4 separate regions of the Homo sapiens genome follow, and all the other regions are linked to region 1. Evidence: promoter capture Hi-C in 16 types of primary human blood cells and fetal thymus (Javierre and others, 2016). All regions are on one chromosome and are shown on one strand. The core of a region is centred on a gene start or on the middle of the fragment in contact, and the rest is flanking DNA. Distances in the headings are between cores, read along the strand shown.

Region 1 (3,075 bases), core at 312-2,811:
TGGCAAAGGGGCCAGAGTCACACAGTAACATCCACCACAGCCAAGGGCCAGTCACAGACACGAGCCCCAAATAACTACGGGCCCACATCACAGAAGGAACACACAGTAAGGACCACAATTACACAGTGGGTCCCCTTTCCATGGATGAGCGTCAGTGTCACAGATACAAACTCCCCAAAAGAAGGGGCAATGAGTCACACACACATTCCCTGCATGCCCCTTCCCACCCAATAAGTGGGTTAGGGTCAATCAAAAGACAGTCGTCCCCCAAGCCCCGCCCCATGGATAAGGATCAGAGTCACAGACCGCCCCCCCTCAAAGGGTAAAGACCAGAGTCACATCCCCCCTCCGATCCCCCAGGAATAGAGACCAGAACCACAGAATATTTCCCCATGGACCGATAAACACCAGAGTAACACAGAGCAGCATCCCCTCTCCTATGCACAAACTCAAAGTCGCAGACAACCGCTTCCCCACTGATAAACTTCGATGTAGCCGACACAGTGATCCACAGTAGCCCACTCCCATCCGTCCCTCCCTTCCCCCAACCCGCATGCACCCATCCCATGTCCCAGTCGCGCACGCGCCTTTGCTCACACCAAAAAAAAAAAAAAAAAAAAAAAAAACCAAAAAAAAAAAAACCCTCCCGGGTTGAGACATTGCACCAACCCCTCCGTTCCGCGCATCTCCCCCGACCCGAAGTCCGCCCTCGCGCCTCCTCTACGTCCCCGCCCCGGGCCCCTTACCTCCGCCCCCACGACCAGCGTCGACGCTCACCTTCTCGGCCCGGGCTGTCAAGGAAGGGCTCCCAGACATCACCTCTGCCCGCCGCCACCTCCTCCAACTCTCCCAGCTCAGCCGGAGCCGGAGCGCGCAACAACCAAGTCCGAGACTGGAGGCAGATCGGGGGGAGGGGAGAAGCGCCAAGCGCGCTGCCCTCCCAGGGAAACTCACTGCCGCCTACTCCCAGCCGGCCACAGTCACCAGCTCAAAATGGCGACGACGAGAAGGGAGTCGGCGCTCCGACCACCATCCACCTACTAAGGAAGCGCGCTCTGGCCGGCCCCGGCGATTGGTCACCGCCCGCTAGGGGACAGCCCTGGCCTCCTCTGATTGGCAAGCGCTGGCCACCTCCCCACACCCCTTGCGAACGCTCCCCTAGTGGAGAAAAGGAGTAGCTATTAGCCAATTCGGCAGGGCCCGCTTTTTAGAAGCTTGATTTCCTTTGAAGATGAAAGACTAGCGGAAGCTCTGCCTCTTTCCCCAGTGGGCGAGGGAACTCGGGGCGATTGGCTGGGAACTGTATCCACCCAAATGTCACCGATTTCTTCCTATGCAGGAAATGAGCAGACCCATCAATAAGAAATTTCTCAGCCTGGCCGAAAATGGTTGGCCCCACGAAGCCACGACAACTGGAGGCAAAGAGGGTTGCTCAACGCCCCGCCTCATTGGAAAACCAAATCAGATCTGGGACCTATATAGCGTGGCGGAGGCGGGGCGATGATTGTCGCGCTCGCACCCACTGCAGCTGCGCACAGTCGCATTTCTTTCCCCGCCCCTGAGACCCTGCAGCACCATCTGTCATGGCGGCTGGGCTGTTTGGTTTGAGCGCTCGCCGTCTTTTGGCGGCAGCGGCGACGCGAGGGCTCCCGGCCGCCCGCGTCCGCTGGGAATCTAGCTTCTCCAGGACTGTGGTCGCCCCGTCCGCTGTGGCGGGAAAGCGGCCCCCAGAACCGACCACACCGTGGCAAGAGGACCCAGAACCCGAGGACGAAAACTTGTATGAGAAGGTGAGAGGCGGGGGGGGGGGGGGGGGTAGTGGGGACGGAACCCCGAAGGGGTCAGTCCGGGATCGGCAGATGGGGCGCTGTAGAGGACGTTCTTAGGCAGTAGAGGACTGCGCGGCCGGCGAAAGCCTAGAAGACTTGGGAATTTTGCCTACCTTGTGTTCCTCCTTTGTCTCTCGGTATCTTCGTTCCAGGGCCAGAGGCAGGATTGGTTTTATTTTGCAGACAGAAATCACACCTCAAGTGGACAGCGCTCAAAACACGTTAGAAGCAGTATAGTACAACGATAATACTAAACACCGATATGGCACTTGCTCGTTGCCGTCTGCATTCTTTTTTTTTTTTTTATAGGGACGAGATCTCGCTATGTTGCCCAGGCTGGTCTCGAACTCCTGGCTCAAGCGATCCTCTCGCCTCGGCCTCCCAAGGTGCTGGGATTACAGGCATGAGCCACCGCTCCGGGCCCCGTCTGTGTTCTAAACACTTGACATGCATTAGCTCATCTTATACTCGAAACAAACCCCATTTCGAGGTGGGCTCTATTATTATACTCATCCTACAGATGAGGAAACTGAGGCACAGAGATGTTAAGTGGATTGCCCTAGCTCACATAACTGAATACATGGTGGAGGTGGAACTGGTATTTGAATTTAGGGCTACCAGGTCTGCTGTGCTGTATTAATAGCAGACGCTGTGAAATCAGGCAGCACTGACGGTTACCCACCCGTGTGATCTTGGTAGCATAAACCCTTGGTGCCTCAGTTTCTTTGTCTGTAAGATGGGAACAGTAATAGGACACCTTCTAAAAAATAGGACACCCCACCTGCCTCATGTAATTAAATGAGTAAAAATGGTCAGAACAGCAGCTGGCACTTCGTAAGTATGTACTCAGCACTAGAATGTGTTTATTATTGCCATGTTTCACCTCACTGAGATATTGTGAGGTGTTTCTATGTGAAAAGACTGGCACATAATAAGTACTTCATCAATACTAACCTCTGGTTAAGGGGCTTGGATATATAGGATGCTTGTTCATTCTGTAAATATGTATTGAGGGCCTGCTGTATGCCAGGCTCAGTTCAGGGCCCTGGGGATACAGCAGTGTGGAAATCAGACAAAGCCCATGCTCTCATAGAGCTTACATGATAGTGGGGAAGACAGAAAATAAACAGTAAAATATTAGAAAACAATAATACAAAGTAGTATAATAGATAATATAACATGAGAATGTATGATATACAGAGAATGGGGAAAGTATGCTACTTAGGTAAACATAGACTAGAAAGAG
Region 2 (3,075 bases), core at 259-2,758, 850 kb before region 1:
AATGTTCCATGTGCATTTGAAAAGAATGTATATAAAAAATTAGCTAGGTGTGGTGGCACGTGCCTGTAGTCCCAGCTACTCGGGAGGCTGAGGCAGGAGAATTGCTTGAACACAGGAGGCGGAGGTTGCAGTGAGCCAAGATCACGCCATTGATTGCACTCTAGCCTGGGCAACAGAGCGAGACTCTGTCTCAAAAAAAAAAAAAAAGAGAAAAGAAAAGAATGTATATTCTGTTGTTTTATAGTGGCGTGTTTTGTATATCTCAATTGCATACAGTTGGTTGATGGTGTTTAGTTCTATATTCTTGCTGATTTTCTGTCTACTGGTTCTATCAGTTACTGAGAAAAGAGTATTGAGTATACAGTTATTATTGCAGATTTGCCTGTTTCTCCTGTCAGTTGCATCAGTTTCCCTTCATATATTTTGAAGCTCTGTTGTTAGATGCATACACTTTTAGGAGTGTTGTATCTTTTTGGTGAATTAATTAATTCTTTTTTTTGAGATGGAGTCTTGCTCTGTCACCCAGGCTGGAGCGTAGTGGTGCAATCTTGGCTCACAGCAACCTCCCCCTCCCGGTTTCAGGTGATTCTCCTGCCTCAGCCTCCTAAGTAGCTGGGGTTACATGTGCCTACCACCACGCCCAGCTAATTTTTGTATTTTAGTAGAGACGGGGTTTTGCCATGTTGGCCAGGCTGGTCTTGAACTCCTGGCCTCAAGTGATCTGCCCGCCTCGGCCTCCCAAAGTGCTGGGATTACAAGTGTGAGCCACTGTGCCTGGCCGGTGAATTTTTTTATCCTTATGTCATTCATTATCCTGGATGAGTTTTGGCTCTGAAGTCTACTTTGGCTGTTATTAAATATGGTCACTCCAGTCTTCTTTGGTTAGTATTTCAATGGTGTACTTTTTTCCATTCTTACTTCTATCCCACCTGTATTATTATATTTGAAGTATGTTGTGTTTTTTTTTTTTTTTTAGCAGGATCTCCCTCTCTCACCCAGGCTGGAGTGCAGTGGCATGATCTCAGCTCACTGCAGCCTTGACCTCCCGGGTTTAAGTGATCCTCCCACCTCAACCTCCCAAGTAGCTGGGACCACAGGCACACACCACCACGACTGGCTAATTTTTTGTAGAGATGGGGTTTTGCCATGTCTCCCAGGCTGGTCTCGAACTCCTGAGCTCAGGTGATTCGCCTACCTCGACCTCCCAAAGTGCTGGGATTACAGGTGTGAGCCACCGTGCCCGGCCAGTATATTCTTTTAGACAGCATGTAGCTGGGTATATTAGTCTGCTCGGGCTGCCATAACAAAGTACCATAGATTGGGTGGGTTAAACAACATAAATTAATTTTCTCACAGTTCCAGAAGCTGGGAAGTCCCAGATTAAGGTACTGACTGATTTGGTTTTAGCCTCGGGCACTCTTTCTGGCTTGCAGATGGCCACCTTCTTGCTGTGCCCTCCCATGGCCTTTCCTCTGCTCACACACACAGAGAGCAAGCTCTGATGTCCATTTCTCTTATATGTACACCAGTTCTGCTGGGTTAGGGCCCCACCCTTATGACCTCATTTAACCTTAATTGCCTTTATAAAGGCCCAGTCTCTAAATACAGTCACATTGCAGGTTGGGGCTTCAATGTATGAATTTGTGGAGTGGGAGTACAATTCAGTCCATAACAGTTGGGTAATATTTTTTTAATCCATTTTGAAAACTTCTTCCTTTTAATTGGTACATTCAGTCCATTGACATTTAATGCAATTATTGATACTCTTGGATTTAGGTATTTACCACTTTATTATTTGTTTTCTGGTTTTTCTCCCTTTTTATTCCTTTGTTTCTCATTTTCTGCCTTCTTTTGGGTTATTTGAACATTTTCTTAGATTACATTTTTATTTGTCTATTGTGTTTTTTACTATATCTATTTACAGAGTTACATAGTTTTTTTTTTGGTGGTTGCCCTGCAAATTACCATATATATTTAAGTTTACACAACATGCTTAGCATCAATATTTTACCTCTTTAAATGGAGTGTGTGAACCTTACCATCTTATAAGTCCCTTTTCCCTCTCCCCTTTATGTTTTTGTTGTCTTATGTATTAATATTACTTTCACATACATTGAAATTTCTACCAGAAAATGTTATTTCTCTTCCAACTGTCAAATGTATTTTAAAGAACTCAAGGATAATCTATTCTATTTACCCAGATTTTTACCACTTTGATGTTCTTCCTTCATTGTTCACAATCTTAAGTTTCCTTCTGATATCAATTGCCTGTTATGAAGAACTGCCTTTGGCAGTTGTTTCAGAGCAAGTCTGCTGGCAACATAGTCTTGGTTTTCCTTCCTTGAGAATGTCTTCTTTCACCTTCATTTCTGAAGGAGATTTTTACTGCATATAGATTTTTCAGTGGACTGTTGTTTTCTTTTGGAACTTTCACAATGCTGTTCCACTTCTTCTGCACACCCTGGTTTCTCATGAGAAATCCACAGTCATTTAAATAGTTGTTCTCCTGTAAATAATATGTTGTTTTTCACTTGTCCTTAGTTTTCAGCAGTTTGGTGATAATGTGTCTGAGTGTGGATTTCTTTGGGGTTATCCTGTTTTGGACTTGCTGAGCCTCTTGAACATATAGATTTTTGTCTTTTGCCAAATTTGGGGAAGTGTTCAGGAATTATTTCTTCCAGATATTTTTCTGTACTATCCTCTTTCTCCTCTCCTTCTGGAACTCTGATGGCATGAATTTTGGACCTTTTGGTATTGTCCCAGAGGTCCCAGAATCTGTTCATGTTTCTGCAGTGTTTTTTCTATTTTTGGGATTAGGTAATTTTTATTGGTTTACCTTGAAGTTTACTTGCTCTTTTCTCTGATATCTCTGTTGTGTTGGGTCCATCAATTGGGGATTTATTTCAGTTATTATCTTTTTCAGTTTCAAAATTTTCATTTGGTTCTTTTTTTTATTTTTGAGACAGCGTCTCGCTCTGTCGCCCAGGCTGGAGTACAGTGGTGCAATCTCAGCTCACTGCAACCTCTGCCTCCTGGGTTCAAGCGATTCTTCTGCCTCAGTCTCCCAAGTAGCTG
Region 3 (3,075 bases), core at 206-2,705, 690 kb before region 1:
TGAACACATCAATCTGCTCATCCACCAGCTGAACTAGACCCAGGTGCCAAACTGCAGTAAATTTGTATCAATGAAGTGGAAGCATGTGTTTTTATTTTTGGGGGGAATTTTTATCAAGTATCTTCAGAGAAGTTTATCTCCTGCTTTATCTTCAAAAACTGGAAAGGAAGGGTCAAAGAAAAGACAGTAGCTCGCCGGGCGCGGTGGCTCATGCCTGCAATCCCAGCACTTTGGGAGGCCAAAGCGGGCGGATCACCTGAGGTCAGGAGTTCAAGACCAGCCTGACCAACATGGAGAAACCCCGTCTCTACTAAAAATACAAAAATTAGCCGGGCATGGTGGCGCATGCCTGTAATCCCAGCTACTCAGGAGGTTGAGGCAGGAGAATCGCTTGAACCTGCCTGGGAGGCGGAGGTTGGGGTGAGCCGAGATTGCGCCATTGCACTCCAGCCTGGACAACAACAGCAAAACTCCGTCTCAAAAAAAAAAAAAAAAAGAAAAAGAAAAGAAAGAAAGAAAAGAAAAGACAGTAGCTTATGTTCATGGCAAGCACCTCTCATCACAGTCCAGTTTCAAGGAAAAATTCCAGCATTTTCTACATTGGCTGCGGCCTCATCTGAAATCAGCACATTCCACGGAGGAAGGAGTCCTGCTTTGCTGCATCTTCTATCCTAGGGTTTAATGTTGGTTAATGAGTAACTCTAGCATTTGTATAATGCTTCCTAAGAATCCTGCAGCAGTCGACCAAGCCCAGGGACATAATTGAATCTGGAGATTCCTGGGGACTTGTTTTGAAAAAGACTCGAAATACACATAGGAAGAAAGGCACAAAAATAAATGTTCACTTGTCTCTGCAAAAAAAAAAAAAAAAAGAGAGAGAAGACATGAAGACACAAATTACCAATATTAGAAATGAAACACAGAGATGTAACTGCAGATCCTGCAGCCATTAAAACAGGGGTATCTAATCTTTTGGCTTCCCTGGGCCCCACTGGAAGAAGAATTGTCTTTCACCACACATAAAATACACTAACACTAACGATAGCTGATGAGCTTTAAAAAAAATGCAAAAAAAACTCACAATATTTTAAGAAAGTTTACGAATTTGTGTTGGGCTGCATTCCAAGCTGTCCGGAGCCACATGTGGCCCACGGACAGCGGGTTGGACAAGCTTGCATTAAAAGGATAGTAAGGGAATACCACAACAACTTTGTGCACATAAATTCAACAACTTGGATGAAACAGTCCAATTCCTTGTAAAATGCAAAGTACCACAATTCACCCACTATTAAATGCAGGTTGAATGTCTCTTATCCAAAATGCTTGGGAACAGAAGTGTTTCAGATTTCAGTTTTTTTTTATTTTGGAATATATGCATATACATAATAAAGTATCTTGCAGAATGAGACCCAAGTATACACACAGAATTCATTTATGTTTCATGTACACTATGTTACCTTATAACATAGCCTGAAGGTAATTTTATATAACATGTTTAATAATTTTGTGCATGAAACAAAGTTTTCACTGCATTTTGACTGTGACCTGTCACAAAATCAGGTGTGAAATTTTGCTTGTGGCATTATGTTGGCACTCAGAAAGTTTTGGATTTTGAAGCATTTTGGATTTCAGATTTTTGAATTAGGGATGCTTAACCTGTAGTCTAAAATGATATTAAATAGATAATCTGAATAGTTACATAACTATTACAGACATTGAAGCCATGATCAAAAAGCTTCCAAATGGAAGTTTCCAGGCCCAGATGGCTTCACTGGAGAAGTCTACCAAATATTTAAATATTTAAATAAAAATTAGTACTTATTCTACACAGTCTCTTCCAGAAAACAGAAGAGGAGGAAATAGTCCCCAACTCATTCAATGAGGCCAGTATTACCCTAATACTAAAACCAGACAAAGCCAAGAGCAGTGGCTAACACCTGTAATCCCAGCACTTTGAGAGGCTGAGGCAGGAGGACTATTTGAGCCCAGGAGATTGAGACCAGCCTGGGCAACATAGTGAGACCCGGTTTACAAAAAATAATAAAATTAGTTGGGTGTGGTGGCGTGTGCCTGGAGTCCCAGCTACTCAGGAGGCTGAGGTGGAAGAATCACTTGAGGCTGGGAGGTCAAGGCTGCAGTAAGCCATGGTCACACCACTGCATTCCAGCCTGAGGAACAGAGTGAGAGCCTGTCTCAAAAATAAAAAATAAAACCAGACAAAGATAGTATAAAAAAGAAAACTATAGACAAATATTTCCCATGAACTTAGATGCAAAAATCCTCAAAAAAGCATTAGCTAATCAATTCCTTCAATATATCCAAAGAATTATACATCACAACCAAGTAGGGTTTATTCCAGGAATGTAAGACTAGTTCAATATTCAAAAATCAATCAGCATAACCCTCCATACTGACAAGCTAAAAAAGAAAAAAAATCACAAGATCATCAAAATTCAGAGTGTTGATGAAATTCAACACCCATTCACGATAAAAACTACTTTTGAAATTAAAAATAGAGGGGAACTTCCTCAACCAAAAAAGAGGGTCCAAAAAAAGAAAGCCCTACAGCTAAAATCATACTTAATGGTAAAAGGTTGAATATTTTCCCCCTAAGACTGAAAACAATGCAAAGATGTCCACTCTCTTATTCAACATAGTACTGGAACTTCTTGCCAGTGTAATAAGGGAAGAAAAGCAGAGGTATAAAGATTGGAAAGAAAGAAATAAAACTATCCCTGTTTGTATATGACATGATTGCTCATGCAGAAAATCCAAGGAATCTGCCAAAAAAGGTGTAAAACCTAATAATTGAGCTCAGCAAGATTGCAGGATACAAGACCAACAGACAAAACTCAATTGTATTCCTATATATAAGCAACAATTTAAAAGATAACACCATTTATGACCACTCCAAAACAATTAAATACTTAGGTATAAATTGAATAAGACATGTACAGAACTTGGGTGATGAAAATTAAAATACACCATTTATAGAAATTTTAAAAGATCTAAATAAATAGAGAGACATACTATGTATATGGATTGGAAGACTTGGCACAGTTAAGACTTAACTTC
Region 4 (3,075 bases), core at 392-2,891, 530 kb before region 1:
AATTGAAAGGTAGAGGCAGGAGAATCGCTTGAATCCAGGAGGTAGAGGCTGCAGTAAGCTATGATCATGCCACTGCGCTCCAGCCCAGGTAACAGAGCAAATCCTTGTCTCAAAAATAAGGGAACATTTAACTTTTATAAAAACAAAAAAAATCACCTATGTTAGTAGGAGAATCATTTTAGACAAAATCATTTTAGAAATAACTATTTTTTAAAAATTAGCTGAGTGTGGTGGTATGTGCCTATGGCCCAAGCTACTTGGGAGGCTGAGGTGGGAGGATTGCTTGATCCCAGGAGGTCAAGGCTGCAGTAAGCGGAGATAGCACCACTGCACTCTAGCCTGGGCAACAGAGGGAGACCCTGTCTCTAAAAACGAGAAAAGAAAAGAAAAGGAATGACAACTTTTAACATTAAAGCCTTAAAAAATTTCAGAACATACTAGAATGGGATATGACTTATTCTTTCAGTTGGTTATAGAAAAATAAAACAAAAAAATTATTCCTGTTACGTAATGTAAGGTAACTAAGAAATAAGTAGTGCAGTAAGCTTAAAGTGATGTCTATTTATGTAAGTGTGAATATATTTTAAACACCATCTGACTATGTTTGTCAAGTTACACCAATGGATTAACCACAGATGTCCATGGTAAGGATGCAATATTTCATCTGCTATGAGGGATATTGTATTAGTCCATTTTCACGCTGCTATAAAGAACTGCCTGAGACTGGGTGATTTATAAAGGAAAGAGGTTTAAATAACTCACAGCTCAGCATGGCTGGGAAGGCCTCAGAAAACTTGCAATTATGGCAGAAGGCAAAGGGGAAGCAAGGCACTGTCTTCACGAGGCGGCAGGAAGGAGAAGTGCCAAGTGAAAGGGGAAGATCCCCTTATAAAACCATCAGATCTCGTGAGAACTCACTCACTATCATGAAAACAGCATGGAGGAAACTGCCTCCATGATTCAATTCAATTACCTCCACCTGGTCTCTCCCTTGACACGTGGGGATTATGGGGATTACAATTCAAGATAAGATTTGGGTGGGGAACACAAAGCCTAATTCTAAGAATTAAAGAAAGAGGAAAGAAACATGAAAGGTGGCTCAACAGTCAAGGACAGGTTTATTTTAGAGAAAACAAACCTGACAGGGGATTCTGGCCAAGTTAGATCAGAGCCCACTCTCTTACAGACTAAGAGTTTTTAAAGATTTAGGGTGGGAGAGTTTATCAGAGGCTTGGACTGCTTCTGTGTCTCTTCATTTTGCTTATCTGGGAGGGAGAGTTTTGTGTCTGTTCCCATACATCTTCCTGCAGCTGCAGGCATACCCCCCCAGTCTACTTTTAGCTTCCCTATCTTAGTGCACCTGAAGGGAAAGGAATGTGCTTAGTAAGGCCCACTGTTTCACTGGGGTCCATTGTATGAGGGTGAAGTTCGGCAGTTACCCAGGAGACTTCCCCCCCGCCTCCCTCTGTGCCTGAGCTGTCTTATCTGTGTTTTACTGTCTGCTCTTTTCTGGCTGCTTGTAGTTAGAAAAGAAGTGATTTCCTTGAAATGCATGAGGCTAGAAAGGGAGCTTGAACTTAGAGTGGCGGTGTTTGTCCAAGATGACGGTGCTCCTGCTCTGTCATTAACCATATCAGATATTAAAGAAGAAACACATTTTTTTCTAGAAGTGAGGAAAGAATATTAAACAAAAGTGATAGGCAAAAAAGACAGAGAACGTCATCACTGAAATAAGGGCACCATTAATAGGGAGAGCAATAATAGTACTCACTTATTGCTGCTTCAAACCATTATCTTCTATTGTTGGGAATAATGCAATAACCATTCTTATGTGTCACAATCATCACATATATACAAATACACATGTGAAAATACAGATACTGCATGGTGACTAAGCATGTTTGGAATAAATCAAGAGTCTAAGTCACGACATACATAAATCATTTATATCTAAACTGCTAATTCAAGACAGGCAGCGTGGTGTAATGGTTAAGAACATGAATGCTGGAGCCAGATATGTATTCAAATCCTGCCCCTTAATGGTTTCTCAGATATGGCACAAAAAGTACACATAAAGAACCCTTACACTTTGCTAAAACAAAATAAATAAATAACCCAACTAAAAAATGGGCAAAGGCTGGGAGCAGTGGCTCACGCCTGTAATCCCAGCACTTTGGGAGGCTGAAGCGGGCGGATCACCTGAGGTCAGGAGTTTGAAACCAGCCTGGCCAATATGGCAAAACCCCATCTCTACTAAAAATACAAAAATTGCCCAGGCGTGGTGGTGCATGCCTGTAATCCTAGCTACTTGGGAGGCTGAGGCAGGAGAATGGCTTGAACCAGGGAGGCGGAGGTTGCAGTAAGCCGAGATTGCGCCACTGCACTCCAGCCTGAGCAACAGAGCAAGACTCCGTCTTAAAAAATAAACAAACAAATAAATAAATAAATATACTGCTAATTCATACTGGTACACATTTTTGTGAAACATACTAACACTTTTTAAGTGATGCAATCAAAACTCTAGTTACAAGGAAGGGAGAGACATCTGGAAAGGTTGACTAAGGAGCTTGGCAATCCTCTCCACAAAACGCCATGACAAAAGTGGACAAAATTGCCAAAAACAACCAGTTAAAGACTCTGGAAATTTACCAAGGTAATATAACAAATTGGGAAGTGGTTATTCAAGAAAAACTACTGAGGCTTGGAAGCAGAGCAAGATGGCCAAATAGAAGCTTCCACTGATTGTCCCCCGACAGGAACACCAAATTGAACAACTACACACACAGAAAACCACCTTCATAAGAACCAAAAAGCAGGTAAGCAGTCACAGTACTTGGTTTTAATATTATTTTAAGGAAAGAGGCACTAAAGAAGGTAGGAAAGACAGTCTTGAATCACCTACACTACCCTTCCCTCACCATCTGGCAGTGGCCATGTGGTGCAGAGAGAGAATCTGTGTGCTTGAGGAAGGGAGAACACAGTGAATGTGGGACTTTGCATTGGAACTCAGTGCTGCCGTGTCACAGCGAAAAGCAACATGGGGCAGAACTCAGCTGGCGTCTATGGAGGGAGCAT

The links. The method cuts DNA at HindIII sites, captures the fragments that hold promoters and counts their contacts. A CHiCAGO score of 5 or more calls a contact.
Region 2: a contact is called between a fragment that was not itself captured here and the fragment with the promoter of NDUFB11 in region 1, in 1 of 17 cell types (non-activated CD4 T cells). The highest score is 5.1, in non-activated CD4 T cells.
Region 3: a fragment that was not itself captured here is called in contact with the fragment with the promoter of NDUFB11 in region 1 in 3 of 17 cell types (naive CD8 T cells, total CD8 T cells and total CD4 T cells); the score reaches 6.6 in naive CD8 T cells.
Region 4: a contact is called between a fragment that was not itself captured here and the fragment with the promoter of NDUFB11 in region 1, in 1 of 17 cell types (monocytes). The highest score is 5.6, in monocytes.

The regions. Positions count from the first base shown.
Region 1 is chrX:47,143,188-47,146,262 of GRCh38, reverse strand. NDUFB11 (NADH:ubiquinone oxidoreductase subunit B11) reads left to right here and starts at 1,561. Exons shown (of 3, transcript NM_001135998.3): 1 at 1,561-1,790. The coding sequence starts at 1,584. It overlaps RBM10 (RNA binding motif protein 10), which reads right to left and starts at 1,042. Exons shown (of 24, transcript NM_005676.5): 1 at 778-1,042. RefSeq lists an enhancer at 749-1,018. The HindIII fragment of the contact is 2,886 bases long and covers 1,217-3,075 here.
Region 2 is chrX:47,995,216-47,998,290 of GRCh38, reverse strand. The region is part of intron 3 of ZNF182 (zinc finger protein 182); the gene reads left to right. Among named protein-coding and RNA genes, the nearest start is that of ZNF182, 7.2 kb to the left of the region's middle. The HindIII fragment of the contact is 5,411 bases long and covers 1-3,075 here.
Region 3 is chrX:47,837,925-47,840,999 of GRCh38, reverse strand. The region is part of intron 1 of ZNF81 (zinc finger protein 81); the gene reads right to left. It also overlaps the pseudogene RPL7P57. Among named protein-coding and RNA genes, the nearest start is that of ZNF81, 2.6 kb to the right of the region's middle. The HindIII fragment of the contact is 564 bases long and covers 1,174-1,737 here.
Region 4 is chrX:47,674,465-47,677,539 of GRCh38, reverse strand. No RefSeq gene overlaps it. Among named protein-coding and RNA genes, the nearest start is that of UXT, 17 kb to the right of the region's middle. The HindIII fragment of the contact is 2,187 bases long and covers 548-2,734 here.